Linked DNA regions of Homo sapiens: region 2 is linked to region 1. Evidence: promoter capture Hi-C in 16 types of primary human blood cells and fetal thymus (Javierre and others, 2016). All regions are on one chromosome and are shown on one strand. Each heading gives the region's core, a stretch centred on a gene start or on the middle of the fragment in contact. The rest is flanking DNA. Distances are from core to core; before and after follow the strand shown.

What was found. Contacts are between HindIII fragments. The CHiCAGO score rates a contact against its expected background, and 5 or more counts as called.
Region 2: the fragment with the promoter of HEATR1 here is called in contact with the fragment with the promoter of PRRC2C in region 1 in 1 of 17 cell types (total B cells); the score reaches 6.8 in total B cells.

Annotation. Positions count from the first base shown.
Region 1 is chr1:171,481,144-171,488,666 of GRCh38, forward strand. PRRC2C (proline rich coiled-coil 2C) reads left to right here and starts at 4,387. Exons shown (of 35, transcript NM_001387844.1): 1 at 4,387-4,592. It overlaps LOC124904828 (small nucleolar RNA U13), which reads left to right and starts at 764; the gene lies at 764-866. RefSeq lists enhancers at 3,976-4,285, 4,192-4,940. The HindIII fragment of the contact is 3,004 bases long and covers 4,193-7,196 here.
Region 2 is chr1:236,601,647-236,609,169 of GRCh38, forward strand. It overlaps HEATR1 (HEAT repeat containing 1), which reads right to left and starts at 2,870. Exons shown (of 45, transcript NM_018072.6): 1 at 2,776-2,870; 2 at 2,308-2,481; 3 at 1,514-1,730. The coding sequence starts at 2,449. RefSeq lists an enhancer at 2,811-3,070. The HindIII fragment of the contact is 2,349 bases long and covers 579-2,927 here.

The DNA.
Region 1 (7,523 bases), core at 3,137-5,636:
GGATCACACCACTACACTCCACACTCCAGTCTGGGTGAGAGAGTGAGACTCCGTCTCCAAAAGAATAAATAAATAAATAAATAATTTATCGTACTTTATATATAATGTAAAATTTTACATATAACATATAATATAAACATTATAATGTACTCAACAGATAGCCTCTCACAAGTTGGCCAAAGGTTTTTTTTTTGCGGGGGCGGGGAAGGAGTCTTGCTCTGTCACCCAGGCTGGAGTGCAGTGGCAGGATCTCAGCTCACTGCAACCTCGGCCTCCTGGGTTCCAGCAATTCTCCTGCCTCAGCCTCCTGAGTAGCTGGGACTACAGGCGCCCACCACCACACTCGGCTAATTTTTCGTATTTTTAGTAGAGACGGGGTTTCACTGTGTTAGCCAGGATTGTCTCGATCTCCTGACCTCAGGTGATCTGCCCGCCTCGGCCTCCCAAAGTGCTGGGATTACAGGTGTGAGCCTCCATGCTTGGCCCATTTTTTTCTTAGTTTTTGTTTTTTCTGGACCCCCCGCAAAGGTGATTTGTTGAAGAACTATCAACATTTTTCTTATCTTTATTAGCAAATGTACAACATCTGTTGATGTTTATAAACCGGGATTACATTTTCATGCAGTATTTGGGTATTCTGGTTTTCTTTACACCAGGCTTATCATGTTTCATAGTTTTTAACTAAATATGATTTGCTGGATCATTCATAAAAAGAAAACAAAATTGTCAAATGCACCTAAACACTTAAGAAACACAACTGCTGATCCTTTTGTAGTTCATAAGTGTGATGATTCAGTGTTCACATGAATCTATGAGATGCGCCAACCTCAAACCTTGTTATGACGTGGTCCATTACCCATCTGATGTGAAAATTTAAAATTTTTAAACAAAGAAGAGAGAAAAAAGGAACATTACTGCTAATAAAGTATGATACTTTCACTGATCATTTTGTTTTTAACTACTCTACCGTAAAATTTCAGTGCCTACAGGATTATGGAATCAATCACAATGAGAAGGGTAGAAACTCATTAAATCATTAGCAAATAAGGCTGGACAATCACAAAGAAAATACGTCATATTGTTTGGAGAGTGAATTTGTTTTCAGTAAGAAACTAGTTTGCCTGATTCCACACCACCCAATTGGAAATTTGATAATGTTATTCTAAAATTATTGTTTAAATAGAAGTGTTGTAAATTAAATGAAAAGTTTTCATTCAATCTGTCATGAAGACATTTTTGTTATAACAAATTTGTCTACAATGGTGGAGTGTCAGGAGAAGTGCAATCCAAGTCAAGGAGACTTCAGTCACATTTTCCCCAATAAATTGGAAACAAAGGCAGTAAGACTGCTCTCTAAAAGTTAGACTTTAAGATCACATACATAGCTAGGAGCAGAAATAAGCAAAGTCACCTTTAAAACACAAACTGGTTTGATTTAACTGTAACTTGATTTTTATTGAAATAATATTGCAAAGAGGTTTGGGTAGCCATGGAAACAGAGAAAGTAACGTACAGGGGGCACTTTAGGGTCAGTGGCCATCCAAGTGCTGCTAAGGAGACAAGGAGCACAAATCAGCAGCTCAGCAGGATGTCACCACTATATTGGAGATCAATGCGGGCAACTGCAGCCATTGGAAATTGAGAACTTCTATTTTCGGGACAAAATTCTCCTGTTGTGAAGATAGATGACTCAAGAAAAGTCTATACATATAACTCCACTTGTTCAGAATATGTGCTCATCAAGCAACCTTCTGATAATGCCTTGGTTTCCTGAGTAGGTTTGGCTACACAGAAAATGCACTCAGCGGGGCCAGGCACAGTGGCTCACACCTGTAATCCCAGCACGTTGGGAGGCTGAGGCAGGCGAATCACATGCGGTCAGGAGTTTGAGACCAGCCTGGCCAACATGGCGAAACCCCATCTCAACCAAAAATACAAAAATTAGCTGGGCGTGGTGGCGCCTTTGTGTAATCCCAACTACTCGGGAGGCTGAGGCAGGAGAACCGCTCGAACCTGGGAGGTGAAGGTTGCAGTAAGCTGAGATTACGCCACCTGGACAACAGAGTGAGACTCCATGGGGAAAAAAAAAAAGAAAGAAGGAAGGAAGGAAGGAAGAAAAGGCAGGCAGGCAAGGAAGGAAGGAAGGGAGGGAGGGAGGGGAGGGGAAGGGAGGGAGGGAGGGAGGGGAGGGGAGAAGGAGGGAGGGAGGGGAGGGGAGGGGAGGGAAATGAGAAAATGTACTCAAGAAAAGATAGCACCTTGGGTCCATGCTGGCATACCGGAGGCTTTCTGTTTCTGGCAAAAATTAAAAGAAAAAAAGAAAAAAAAAGTATTGGCTTTGCAGTTGTTGAGTGTTCAGGTGTATAAATTAAAGCTCTTAGAAATTAATAATTTAATACATGTCTTTTTTTTTTTTTTTTTTTTTTTGAGACAGAGTCTCGCTCTCTCGCTCTGTTGCCCAGGCTGGAGTGCAGTGGCAGGATCTGTGCTCACTGCAAGCTCCGCCTCCTGGGTTCACGCCATTCTCCTGCTTCAGCCTCCTGAGTAGCTGGGACTACAGGCGCCCGCCACCACGCCCGGCTAATTTTTTTTTGTATTTTTTAGTAGAGACTGGGTTTCACCGTGTTAGCCAGGATGGTCTCGATCTCCTGACCTTGTGATCCGCCCGCCTCGGCCTCCCAAAGTGCTGGGATTACAGGCGTGAGCCACCGCGCCCGGCCATACGTGTCAGTCTTATGACCTTGGTTAATGTAATTTCATCTGATTGCTGAAGTTGTTCTCCATTGCTCAAGACAGATGATTTGGCTGGGCGTGGTGGCTCATGCCGGTAATTCCGGCACTTTGGGAGGCCAATGCGGGAGGCTTGCTTGAGCTCAGGAGTTCGAAACCAGCCCAGTCAACATAGCAAGACCTCGTCTCTACTGGCAAAAAAAAAAAAAAAAAAAAAAAAAAGCCAGGTTTTGTGGCAAGCACCTGTAGTCCCACCTACCTGGGAGGCTGAGACAGGTGGATTGCTTGAGCCTGGGAGGTTGAGGCTTCAGTGACCTGTGATTATGCCACTACACTCCAGCCTGGGCAGCAAAGTGAGACCCTGCCTCCAAAAAAACAAAGAAAGATGTTTCTGTGACCAGGACACTATAGACCAGATCCTAGAAGGTTGTAGAAATTCACTAAAGTAATGCTTCCTTGTCCTCTTGTGGATGATCAGTAGGCTTTCCCCTGGCAATGACCCTATATCAATAAAAAAACTTTTTCTTTTCTTCTTTTCTATTTTTTCGAGAAAGAGTCTCGCTGCAGCCTCAACCTCCTGTGCTCAAGTGATCCTTTTGCCTCCAGCCTCCCAGGTAGCTAGGACTATAAGCATGTGCCACTATGCCTAGCTAGCTTTTTTTCTTTTTAATTTTTTTGCAGAGGTAGGGTCTCACTATGTTGCCCAGATTGGTCTTGAACTCCTGGTCTCAAGCAATCCTTTTGCCTTGACCTACCAAAGTATTAGTATTACAGGCATGAGCCACCAAGCAAGTCCAGACTTTTCTACTTCAAATTAATATTAGTGGGGAGGGAGGTGTTCATAATTTACCTCTCTTTATTATTTCATTTATTCTAACATTGCTACAGTGACAATTCCATGGACATACACCAGCTACTGGCGGGGAAGATCGTTCAGACCAGAAGTGGTAAGAAATCCTTGAATTTTAAATATGTCATAGGTAGTTCACAAAGAGGACAAAAGATACCATTTACTAAACATTCGCCATCTGTTCTGACATAATATTATCATCATTGTAGTCTCCCACTTCCAGATACACTCATCTGCCTATGTTACACTTGCCTAGTAAAAGCCAGCATGGGTGAATCTTACTATTCAACGGAGCTGAACACTGTGATGGAGAGATCATATAAATAAACTGAATGGCTTATCTCACATCCATAATTAGAAACTTAAAAAGTGCTCTCAGCAGCCCATGCTACTCTGTTCCTCACACTAGTTTTACTTTCACTCTCTGTGATAACTTTTCAATACACCAAGACTTCTCAGCTTGCCCCAAATTCACTGAGACATACTGGCGAACTGCTGGTTCAACCATTTACACATCCACCCACCAGACATAAGAGTGCTCATTTCACTGAGGCTTATTATCAACTTGTAAACGTGGTCAATTCAAGACTTCTTAGAAAGGTCTCAGGTCCAAGCTTTGTCCTGAAAAGATAATTCTGATTGCAGAAACTCCCTCCGTCCAGCAGGAAGCGCCAGCACCCTCTGTCGGGGTTGGGCCGCCACGGAGGCTTCACGTGATCCGGCCGTCTCTGCGCAGGAGTGTGGTCTTGCGGAGATTTGACCTACGTACTTAGCGTCATGACGTAGTACGTAGGGGCTGGCTAGCCGCCATCTTGCTTCTTTTTCTCGCTCGCTCGCTCCCCCTCGGAAAGCTGCGAAAGTGCTTTGGCGGTTTGTCCATCCGCAGCTTCGGCTTTTCCAGTCTGGTGGCCCTTCCGGCCACCCCTTTAACCCCAGCTTTCCCTCCCCCTTCTTTCGATCAGAGATCGGCGGAGACCCTCGAAGTGCGCAAACTTGACACTCACCCTGACCGGTAAGGAAAGCGAGGGTGTGGGGGCCGCGATCAAAGAGGGCCCCATCGGGAACGGCCAGAGTGCGGCCTGGGGCGTGGGAGCGCACCCAGACCCTGGCGCCCGGAGGCTAGGGGGCCGCGTGGAGAGGGCCTTGGGTCCGGGCATTTCCCTTCTGTTTGGTTACCATCATCTCTGTGTCTGGGGAAGTCGGCCTCCAGCTTGGGGAGCGGGAAACCGGAGTCAGACCCGCCCCATGTGGTCTGCAGCGGGAGTTCTGGACCGGTCTGTCTTGCTCCCACCTAGACCCCAGTCCTGGCCCTGCGAGGGGATTACGCATGTTGCCGGGTAAGCGAAGGGGGTTTCCGTCTTCCTGGACTGGCGGACGTGAAGTCTTTTTTTTTTTTTTTTTTTTTTAGTGTCGGGTATGCGTTTCCCCAAACAACTGAAGGACTCAGCCGGGGCTTTCACTGTCTACCTCTTCCTGTGTAGTGAGGGTGGGACTTGCAATGAGCAATGTATGGGAGGGTCTGGTTTAAAGACCTGGTTAGATGAGAGGCTCTTCGGGGAATCAAGACCAACCCTACTTCCGCTAGGGAAGTGCTGCCCAACTCCGGAGGAGGATTTGGGTAGTCTTTTCACACTCTAGGCCGCTCCATCCTCTAACTTGCGTGGTGAATCTCGGTAGCTCCCTGTCTTTGAGATAGCGTTGATATTGGTGGTGTCAGGGTAAAGGCCCCGTTTTAGGACTGAAGAAAAGGGCATGGGGCCACTATAGAGACATTGATAGAGTCTTCCTTCCTTTGCATGAGAGGAGTACCTTTAATTTAAAGGGATGTATGTGTGTTTTGACATTATTTGGGATCTTTTGAGGGTCTGACATGCCTGATGTTTGCTGGCTTATAAAGCTACCTGGATTTCCGCATTGGCTGGTTTTCAGCCTGGGTTCATAGATTCATACCTCGTTAGAGTACTTAGAATTGTACAGTAGGCGGCTCTGCTGTAAGATTTTCATTTGGAATGCACCAGAAGAATCGGAGGATTTTTTGATTGTTGAGTACTTAATAGCTTACTCCTGCAAATAAAAATAATAGGGTGATACTAAGCACCTACCAAGCCTAACCCCACCATTTTTCAAAACTAGATTTCACCTCCCATATTGGTAATTAAGATGCTGCTTTGACTGGAGCCATTTTTAGGTGTGTGTCACAGATGCACTGCAGCATCTTTTCTGGCTCACCCCAAATGCATTGATCCCCTAAAAAATTAGGAATAAATTGAACTTGAATTTTGTCTTTAGCATGTAGTCAAATAGTAATTCTCTCCTTTTCTGTAAGTGGATTTTCAGAATATAGCCTTTTTAAGTGATTGTGTTTGCTCTGCTTAGCTTATGTGTGGCTGTTCTCCATTAGGTGACCTTTTGCTATACACTGAGCACAGTAATAAGTCCTTTTCATACATTTTTTTTTTAATCTCCACAACAGACCTTTGAGAAAAGTGCTATTAAGATCATCCCCATTTTACAGATGAGGAAATGAAATCTGAGAGAGTAGTCTGACCAAGGTCACATAGCAGTTATTGGTGGTATTGTGTAGGTTCAATTCCATACTGTCTGAACCCAAAGGGGATGCTCTAAACCTTCAACCTGCTTTTTAAATTATAAACTACAGTAACTAAATAAGATAAAGCATTATTAACTAGTAGTTTTTCTTTAGCTTGACTAGTATATGAATATTGTTGCATGCTAAGGTTAAAGTTTTGAAAGTTGTAAAAATGGAATATATCCACTTTGGACTTGGGGTAGAGGCTAATTTTTTTGTGTCCTTTTCTATTTGAGTGCTTAGAGATAACTTAAAACTAACTCTACCATGTCGTAGATATAATTTTTAAATTTAGGCGTCTGATCTATATTATTGGTAGAATATTCCCTCATCTGTAAAATGGTGATGATAATAGGACTTCCCTCAGAGGCTTTTATAGGAGTAAAAAAAGATAATGGATAATGTATGTAAAGGGCTTATTACTATGCTTAGTGCATAGTAAAAGGTCAACTAATAGTGGAGGGAGAATGGTAGGATATTGGTAGAAGAAAATACTCTCTTCCAAGCAATAAATAATCTGTAAATTCTCAGGGTGATGTATATATTTCTTTAGGTACATAAGAAAATTTCACCTCCCCTTATCCCTGATATGTCTACTTATATGCAGGATTTTGCTTCTTAGCGATTTCTTTATGCTCTACAGTAAATATCCCTGGGATGAGTATCTTGTTCATAGCTGAAAATGCAGAAGTTCTGGCTCATTCCAGCCCCCTCTCTTCTTCTTACCCCCACCCCACCCTCTTTAGTGATAAAATGTCTTTGAAGATTATATTATATCCCTGTCTGCCTCCAAGTGCCACCCCTAAACACTACTTCAGTTTGTTAGTTAGGTAACTTGTGTTTTGGATGCTATTTATGTCATATTTGTAAATGACAAGAATTGATCATTGGTAAAATGTTACATAAGTTAGTACAGAATTGTATTCTTACAGTGAAGGACATACAAAAATTGTGTCTGAGTTATGACACACTTTCATTTCGGTAAATCGTGATTTTGTCACCTTATGAATAGGACAACACAATGAAAGCTTATCTCAGTCTATGTTAATTGTTGCTTACAAGTCTGAGAGTTACTGTGTTAGTTTTATGAGTAATAACATTTTAAATTCCTCGCTAATCTCATCGATGCATGAGCCAGAACACCTTTGTGGATAAAAGCGTTCTATAGAGAGGGTAACTTTAGTAAATTTTCTATTTAAGAGACAGACCTAACTCTGTTGCCCTGGCTGGCCTCCAACTCCTGGGCTCAAGAGAATCTCCTGCCTCAGCCTCCCAGGTAGCTGGGACTAGAAGTGCCTACCATTGCTCCCAGCATTGCCAGTTACATTTCTAGTCCTTATTTTCCTCCAGATT
Region 2 (7,523 bases), core at 1,620-4,119, about 65 Mb after region 1:
AATGGAAAAACAAAAACAAAAACAAACAAACAAAAAAAAAACTAGGTGGGCATGGTGGTGCATGCCTGTAATCCCAGCTACTTGGGTGGCTGAGATCGGAGGATCATTTGAGCCCTGGAGATCGAGTGGGCCACGATCACACCACTGCACTCCAGCCTGGGTGAGTGAAATCCTGACACTCAATAAAATAAAAATAAAAAGACAGCCGTGTGCAGTGGCTGTGGTGGCTCACACCAGCACTTTGGGAGGCTAAGACGAGTGGATCACGAGGTCAGGAGTTTGAGACCAGCCTGGCCAACGTGATGAAACCCCATCTTTACTAAAAAAAAAAAAATACAAAAAATTAACTGGGCGTAGTGGTATGTGCCTGTAATCCCAGCTACTTGGGAGGCTGAGGCAGGAGAATTGCTTGAACCTGGGAGGTGGAGGTTGCAGTGAGATGAGATCGTGCCACTGCACTCCAGCCTGGGCGACAGTGCGAGACTGTCTCAAAAAAAAAAGACATACATATTGGGAGAATAAATAAAACAAAAATGTGTATGCTGTGATGTGACACCAATATGTGAGAAAATAAACTAAGCTTACTGAGACAATTCCCAAAGCAGATAAAAGATCAGACCTTGGAAATAAACTTCAGCTGTATCCTAGCTCTGCCACTTACTAGCTGTGTGACTCAAGAAACTTAATCCCTCTAAGCCTCAGTTTTCTCAACTGTAAAACAAGGATAATACAAATAATCTCACCAGAGGAATGCTGTGAGAATTAAATGAGATAATGCAGATAAAGTGCTTACCAGGGCCTAGTGTATAAATGCTCAAAAACACATTAGCTATCATTGTTTTTCTCAAGCAATGGTATTTCAGAGGATAACATTGCCTGCTTCCCCAACCATCTTGTTATTTTGCCAAGAAAGCAGCTTAGTACTCACTGCCTCAAGTGTGCAGGAACAAGCTGTAATGGCAAAGTAGCATGGGCTCTTCAGAACTAACGAGGTTAGGCTGGGCGAGGTGGCTCACACCTGTAATCCCAGTATTTTGGGAGGCCGAGGCGGGTGGATCACCTGAGGTCAGGGGTTAAAGACCAGCCTGGCTAACACGGTGAAACTCCATCTCTACAAAAACACAAAACTCATCCAGGCATTATGGCAGGTGCCTGTAATCCCAGCTACTTGGGAGGCTGAGGTGGGAGAATCACTTGAACCTGGGAGGCAGAGGTTGCAGTGAGCCAAGATTTCAATATTGCACTCCAGCCTGAGTGCCCAGCAAGACTCTATCTCAAAAAAAAACTAATGAGGTTAGACCATTTACTCAAAATCACCAGTAGTTCTACTTTTCACTATCAACAAAAAAGAATTTAAAGGCAGAAGAGCATGCTTATCTCACACAATGGACATTGTATCAATCTCTTAATATACCTAATTTTTCAGCTTTAATTTGATAAGTTCTCAACTACTTAATTTTTTACAAGACCAAAGTGATTAACCCATAGTTATTTCTGTAATTCTATTAGCTACCTGTGAATCAACCACTCCAGACACTTCTGTGCTGGCTTAAGCAGGAAGTAAGGCGACAAGTGAATAAGGAATAATGAAATGTTTTCATCCAACTGTTTGTTTACTGCTTTGGTCTGAACACTTCGCTCCAAGGTTTTTGCTAGCTGACTGAACAACGGTGCTTCAAACTGCTCAAAGGAAGGATCAATTCCAAGCAACTCTTCCAGGCCAGTACATCCTAAATTTCAAAAAAGGCCAGTTTATTTAACAATTCTTCGTAAGCAAATTCATCCCACCCCTCTTTTACAGTTTTACTTACCCCTAAGAAGTTTCTGAATTCTTTAAGTACATATAATTTATAATACAGTCCCAAACACTGATTTCTAGTTTTCAACTTTTAGAGTAAATCCTATCTCATCTACTAGAACAGAAAGTACTTCGTGGCAGGGAACACTTTTTTTTTTTTTTTTTTGGATATCCCCTACAATAACTAGGCCAGTCCTCTGAGAGGACTTCTCCGTCACCCCAGTCACTGCCTCCATCCCCCTTTTAGCTGTTCTTCTCTTTGACATATTAGTTGACCTCTCTAATTTTGTTTCTTCATCTGTGAAATCCAGATACCTCTACTCATAAACATTTCAAGCACCAAGCACCTGACTGTTATGTTCTCTTTCCCTTAAAAATATACATCAACATGCTAGAAACTGCTAAGGAAGAGGACGGGACAGAAGAGAAAACAAGGGGAAAAAAAAAAAACAGTAACATCCAGAAAACAAACGCTTCCAAGAGCTTTTCTAAGTTAAAAGATGGCTCACCAATGGCGAAGGCGGTGTCCCTGTCGATTGTGGCCGCTTCCTTAGGGTCAAATAACAAAGAAGCAACTTCATCTCTAGATAAGAGGCTGGCATCACTTTGAGGGAGGGCGAGTCGTTGCAGCTGCTGGGCTAAGGACGTCATCTTTCACGCCAGCGGAGTTTTAATGACACGGGCTAAAAAAACGTAAGCACTTTGATAAGTTTCTACGAAATTATAAGGCGCCTCGTAAACAAACAATTCTCTTCTGCACTCAGCACCGTCATGGACACACAACGCGGGTGTCCTGAGATTTGTGGACCCCGGAGATGCAAAGACGATGGCAGCAGCGTTAACAACTAATTACAGTAGCGGCGACCGCGCCAAGGCTTTCCTTCAACCCTGATTCCGCAGATATCCGGAAAACTCTTACCCTCCCTCGATATGCCGCCCCCATCCGCAGCCACATCAAGCGGCTCTGTGCCGCTTACCTGGAACTGGGAATTTGGGTATATCTTGGAAGGCAACAACTCTTCACAGCGCTTCCCACATGGTACCAAGGAGCCCAACCCTCACCCGGAAACCTAAGGCATGCTGTAGAGCAACTTCCTGCTGCAGGCGCTACGGCAAGTGAAGAGGTTCAAGCTTGCCGGGAATGCGACGAGACAGCTCCGCCTCCCGAGACGAAAGCCCGCCCCTCAGCCCGCCGGACTCAGGCTCAAGTCTGAGCTTCGCCTCTGTAGCTCCGGTTTAGCGGTCTGCTCTGCGGCTTGTGTCTGAAGCTTTCGGTCTCTGGATGGGCCTTCTGTGGGCTTTAAGGATCCGTAGCCAGAATCATTCATTCAGTAGTGATCCAGCCTTTACTAGGTGCCAGCAGCACCGCGTAGTGTTGAAAGCTATGGGTTGTGAAGTCACGTGGTTTGGGTTCAAATCCTGGCGCTGGCGCCTGTCGGCCGGGTTAACGCCACCAAATTATTTCATCTCTCCGAGCTTGTTACTCACTCTACAAAGTGGGAAGAGGCCGAGATTGTCGTGAAAGGAGCTTCTGCTCCTAGTGCAAACCGATCTATAAATGCTGGACTCCACCGCCCCAGAGCTTGGGGGAGATCTTGTCACTCCTCTATGTTTCCATTCCCGAGGGGTAAATGGCATATATTTTTTTCTTTCAAAACGAATCATAGTCAGGCGCGGCCTGTAATCCGAGCACTTTGGGAAGCTCAGGCGAGCTGATCACCTGAGGTCAGGAGTTCGGGACCAGCCTGGCCAACATAGCGAAACCCCGTCTCTACTAAAAATAAAAGAATTAGCCGGACGTGGTGGCGGGCGCCTGTAATCCCAGCTACTAGGAAAGCTGAGACAGAAGAATCGCTGGAACCCGGGAGTCGGAGGTTGCAGTGGGCCAAGATTGCACCACTGCACTCCACAGAGCGAGACTGTCTCAATAAATAAATTAATCGAATCCTGTTGAGGTATAATTTACAAACAATGGTTACACCCACGTCAGTGGAAGAGTTTGATGACTTTTAGCAAATGCATGTATAGGTGTAATGACCTCCCCAGTCAAAATGACAGTTTCCATCGCCCCTAAAAATTGTCTCTTGCCTGTTTGCGAAGATTCCCGCAACCACTGGTCTTGGCCTCACTACAGATAGTGTTGCGGAAGAGTATCCTTATGTATGAATATAGCTAATCTGTTTCCAAAACACCGGTATGCGCTAGAACTAGGATGAACTGACGTCTTCCAGACGAAGGAGTGAGATCTGATGCTCTGTCTTTTCTGGATGCATTAATTTCTCTGAAGAGCTCTGCGGGGCCAGGGGGTCAAGTCTTTCTGTAACCGTCTTCCCTGGAGAATGTCAGAAACACAGCTACAAATTTGGAGGCCCTGGTTGTCTATACCTCATGCAGATTCTCTCCCATTTACAAACAGAATCTTTTGTTGTTGGTTTGCTTTAAAAGCATTTAAAACAACCAAATATTTTCTTCAGTTATTAGTATTTCTACTGACTGTTAATAATCTTCTTTTCATGTGGTGTTGAGTGCCTTGCAGAGAATAACATGAAAATTCTAGTAGTACCTATTTCATTCTTACAAACATATCTCTCAAAGGAATTTTTTTTTTCTTTCTAACATGTCACAGGAGTTTTACCTTTACAGAAGCAATCAGCTTTCGGTACTTTAAAAGAAATGAACACCAGGTCTGTTTCATTGATAAGATAATTTGCTTTTTTTGCTTAAAAAATACCCTATATATTTTTTAAAAGCTTTATTTAAGTGAAACTTGAAAAAGTGCTACAAAGATTTGACTCAGTCCTTCCTATGTCAGCTGTGATGGTGTATAGTGCCATGCCGAATTTTACTTTGGAAAGTAAAAAGGAAAACAAGTCAGATGTTCATAAATGTAATTTTTTTTTAAAAAAAAGCTTTGGTTTTAAAAAAAATGTAATAATCTTGAATTATATATTTTTATCTGACGGACAGATGTACCAAGCTGGTATTTTCTTCATAGCCATTATCACTACTTGAAATGACCTGATTTGTCTGTTTGTTTACCTGTTTATTTCTTGTATTCCCTCACTATAATATTGGCTTCAGCACGTTGGCATAAAGCCCATCCCTAAGACTTATGGAGCCTGAGAAAGAGTACAGATGGACTCACTGCTGTAGGTGTAAATATTTAAAAGTTATAAATTAACTTAACACATTATTAACTAGGATATGCTATAACTCTCAATATTGGTGAGTAAACATTTATAATGGCAAAATAAAAATGTTTTTACATAGATGAAAATCAGCAAAATCTGATTGCATTTAATTATATCATTCCTGTCCGGGTGTCCTATTGATTGGCTGATTATTTTGGATGAGTGATAAAGACATCTATAGTTAATACATTTCCTATATATTTAGCCCATGAAAATTTACCTTCATTTCAGCAAAATTACCATGTATGCTGTTTGATCAAGATTTTCATGTAATTGTGTTCTATCAGAAATAATGATCAAAAAGGATTAAAAATAAAATTTAATTATATTCCAAACATATAGTTTGAATGTTTCAATAAAAATATAAATTAAATTAAAAAGCAATACATTAAATCTTTTTCACTTTTTTCAAAAGATTTACCTTTCTTATAAGATGTAAAGTATAATTAGTGACAATATTTTTTTTTTGTTTTGAGATGGAGTCTTGCTCTGTCGCCCAGGCTCGAGTGTGGTGGCGTGATCTCAGCTCACTGCAACCTCCGCCTCCCAGGTTCAAGCAATCCTCTGCCTCAGCTTCTCAAGTAGCTGGGATTACAGGTGCCTGCCACCACACCCAGCTAATTTTTGTATTTTTAGTAGAGACGGGGTTTAATTAGTGACAAAATTTTAAGTAAAATAATTTAAATAAATCTAAAGTTGTATTTGTTTTTTTGGTAAATATTACTTAATGAAATTGTTCATTAAAGTAAATTACTCACAAGCGTATCATTCAATGTCCACCTAGTTGCCAGTGTAAAGAATTGGTATCACCCTTTGTTCATGTTATGTCTGTATCTACCTATTTTCAAATTTCAGAGTCATGTGAATTGTTTAATATTGTTAAATGTTCCTCAGCAACCATATCTGATTGTTGAGAATTCTACACTAATTCCTGAGTATATCCAGAACCATAAATTGGGGGGAAAAAAAGGAAATAAGAAATTCCATGTTTGGAACTACTTAGATATAATACTTTATAATGCAAAAATATGTTCATGTAGTTTGAAAGGAAAAGTGTGACAAATTAACTTTTCTTTTCTCTTACCTAAGCATTTCTGTATTCAGCATCCTGGTCGGGTCCCGGCCAGGTGCGGTGGCTCATGCCTGTAACCCAGCACTTTGGAGGCTGAGGCGGGCGGCTCACCTGAGGTCAGGAGTTTGAGACCAGCCTGGCCAACATGGTGAAACCCCATCTCTACTAATAATACTAATCCTGACTCTACTAAAAAAAAATTGGCCGGGCGTGGTGGCGCACGCCTGTAATCCCAGCTACTAGGGAGGCTGAGGCAGGAGAATCTCTTGAACCGGGAGGTGGAGGTTGCAGTGAGCCGACATCGCGCCGTTTGCACTCCAGCCTGGGCAACAAGAGCGAAACTCCGTCTCAAAAATAAAACGAAACAAAAAACAAACAAAAAAACAAATTCTCCCTATGCTCTTAGGCAGCGTCCGGAAACAGTACAATCCACGGATATTCAGTGTATTCAGACAGGGTTGTCTTTTACTTTCAGGACAAGGGACAAGAGACCTATTTCCCACAAACTTAAATGCATAAATCATGAGGGTCTATGTTTAGGTTTATAGGTTATGCCACAGTAGTGCTAAATGGCAGGTTTTGAAAGGCAGGTTCCCACATTTTTAAGCAAATTTATTTTGTATGATTTGTGATATGCAGAGATCACGATCTAAGGATGATGTTGAAGACTTTCTCGTGTTTACTACTAAATCCTAACTACCAAATAAAGTACCTGGAACGTGGTTAACAATACATATTTATTTATCGAATGAATGAATGAATATAAATGTGCATAAGCTGTATCTGTATCTCCTTCCTGTTCAAGAAATGTGTATCAGAATTCAAGTGAATAAGTGTAGCATTATTATAGGAATAACTTAGAATTATTCTAACTATAATAAAAGTAAAATTTTCACAAACTTCAAAGTTTAATTATTAGTAGAGTGTTTACATCATATATCACAACTGATGGGATACCATCCACTTGAAAATATATCTGTTGCTGGGCTCAGTGGCTCACGCTTGTAAACCCAGCAGGTTGAGAGGCCAAGGCTGGCATATCGCTTGAGCCCAGGAATTCAAGACCAGTCTGAGCAACATGGGGAAACTCCACCTCTGCAATGAGCACAAAAATTAGCCGGGCATGGTAGCACGCCCTGGGAGGCTGAAAATGGGAGGATCAGTTGAGCCTGGGAGGATCAATTGAGCCTGGGAGGCAGAGGTTGAAGTGAGCTGAAATTGCACCACTGAACTCCAGCCTGGGTACCAGAGGGAGTCGCAAAAAGTAAAAAGAAAGAAAGAAAGAAAAATAACGAGAAAAGAAATAGGATGTGTGTAATTAGCAATGTAAAGTCAACATATGAAATCTACATTTTGGCAATATGCTAAAAAAAATTGACTAGTTAAATGATTGAGAAGTATGTGTTTCGTCATATTGCATCCCAAACAAATTTATTTGCATTTTTATAAGCTTGAGCACTTG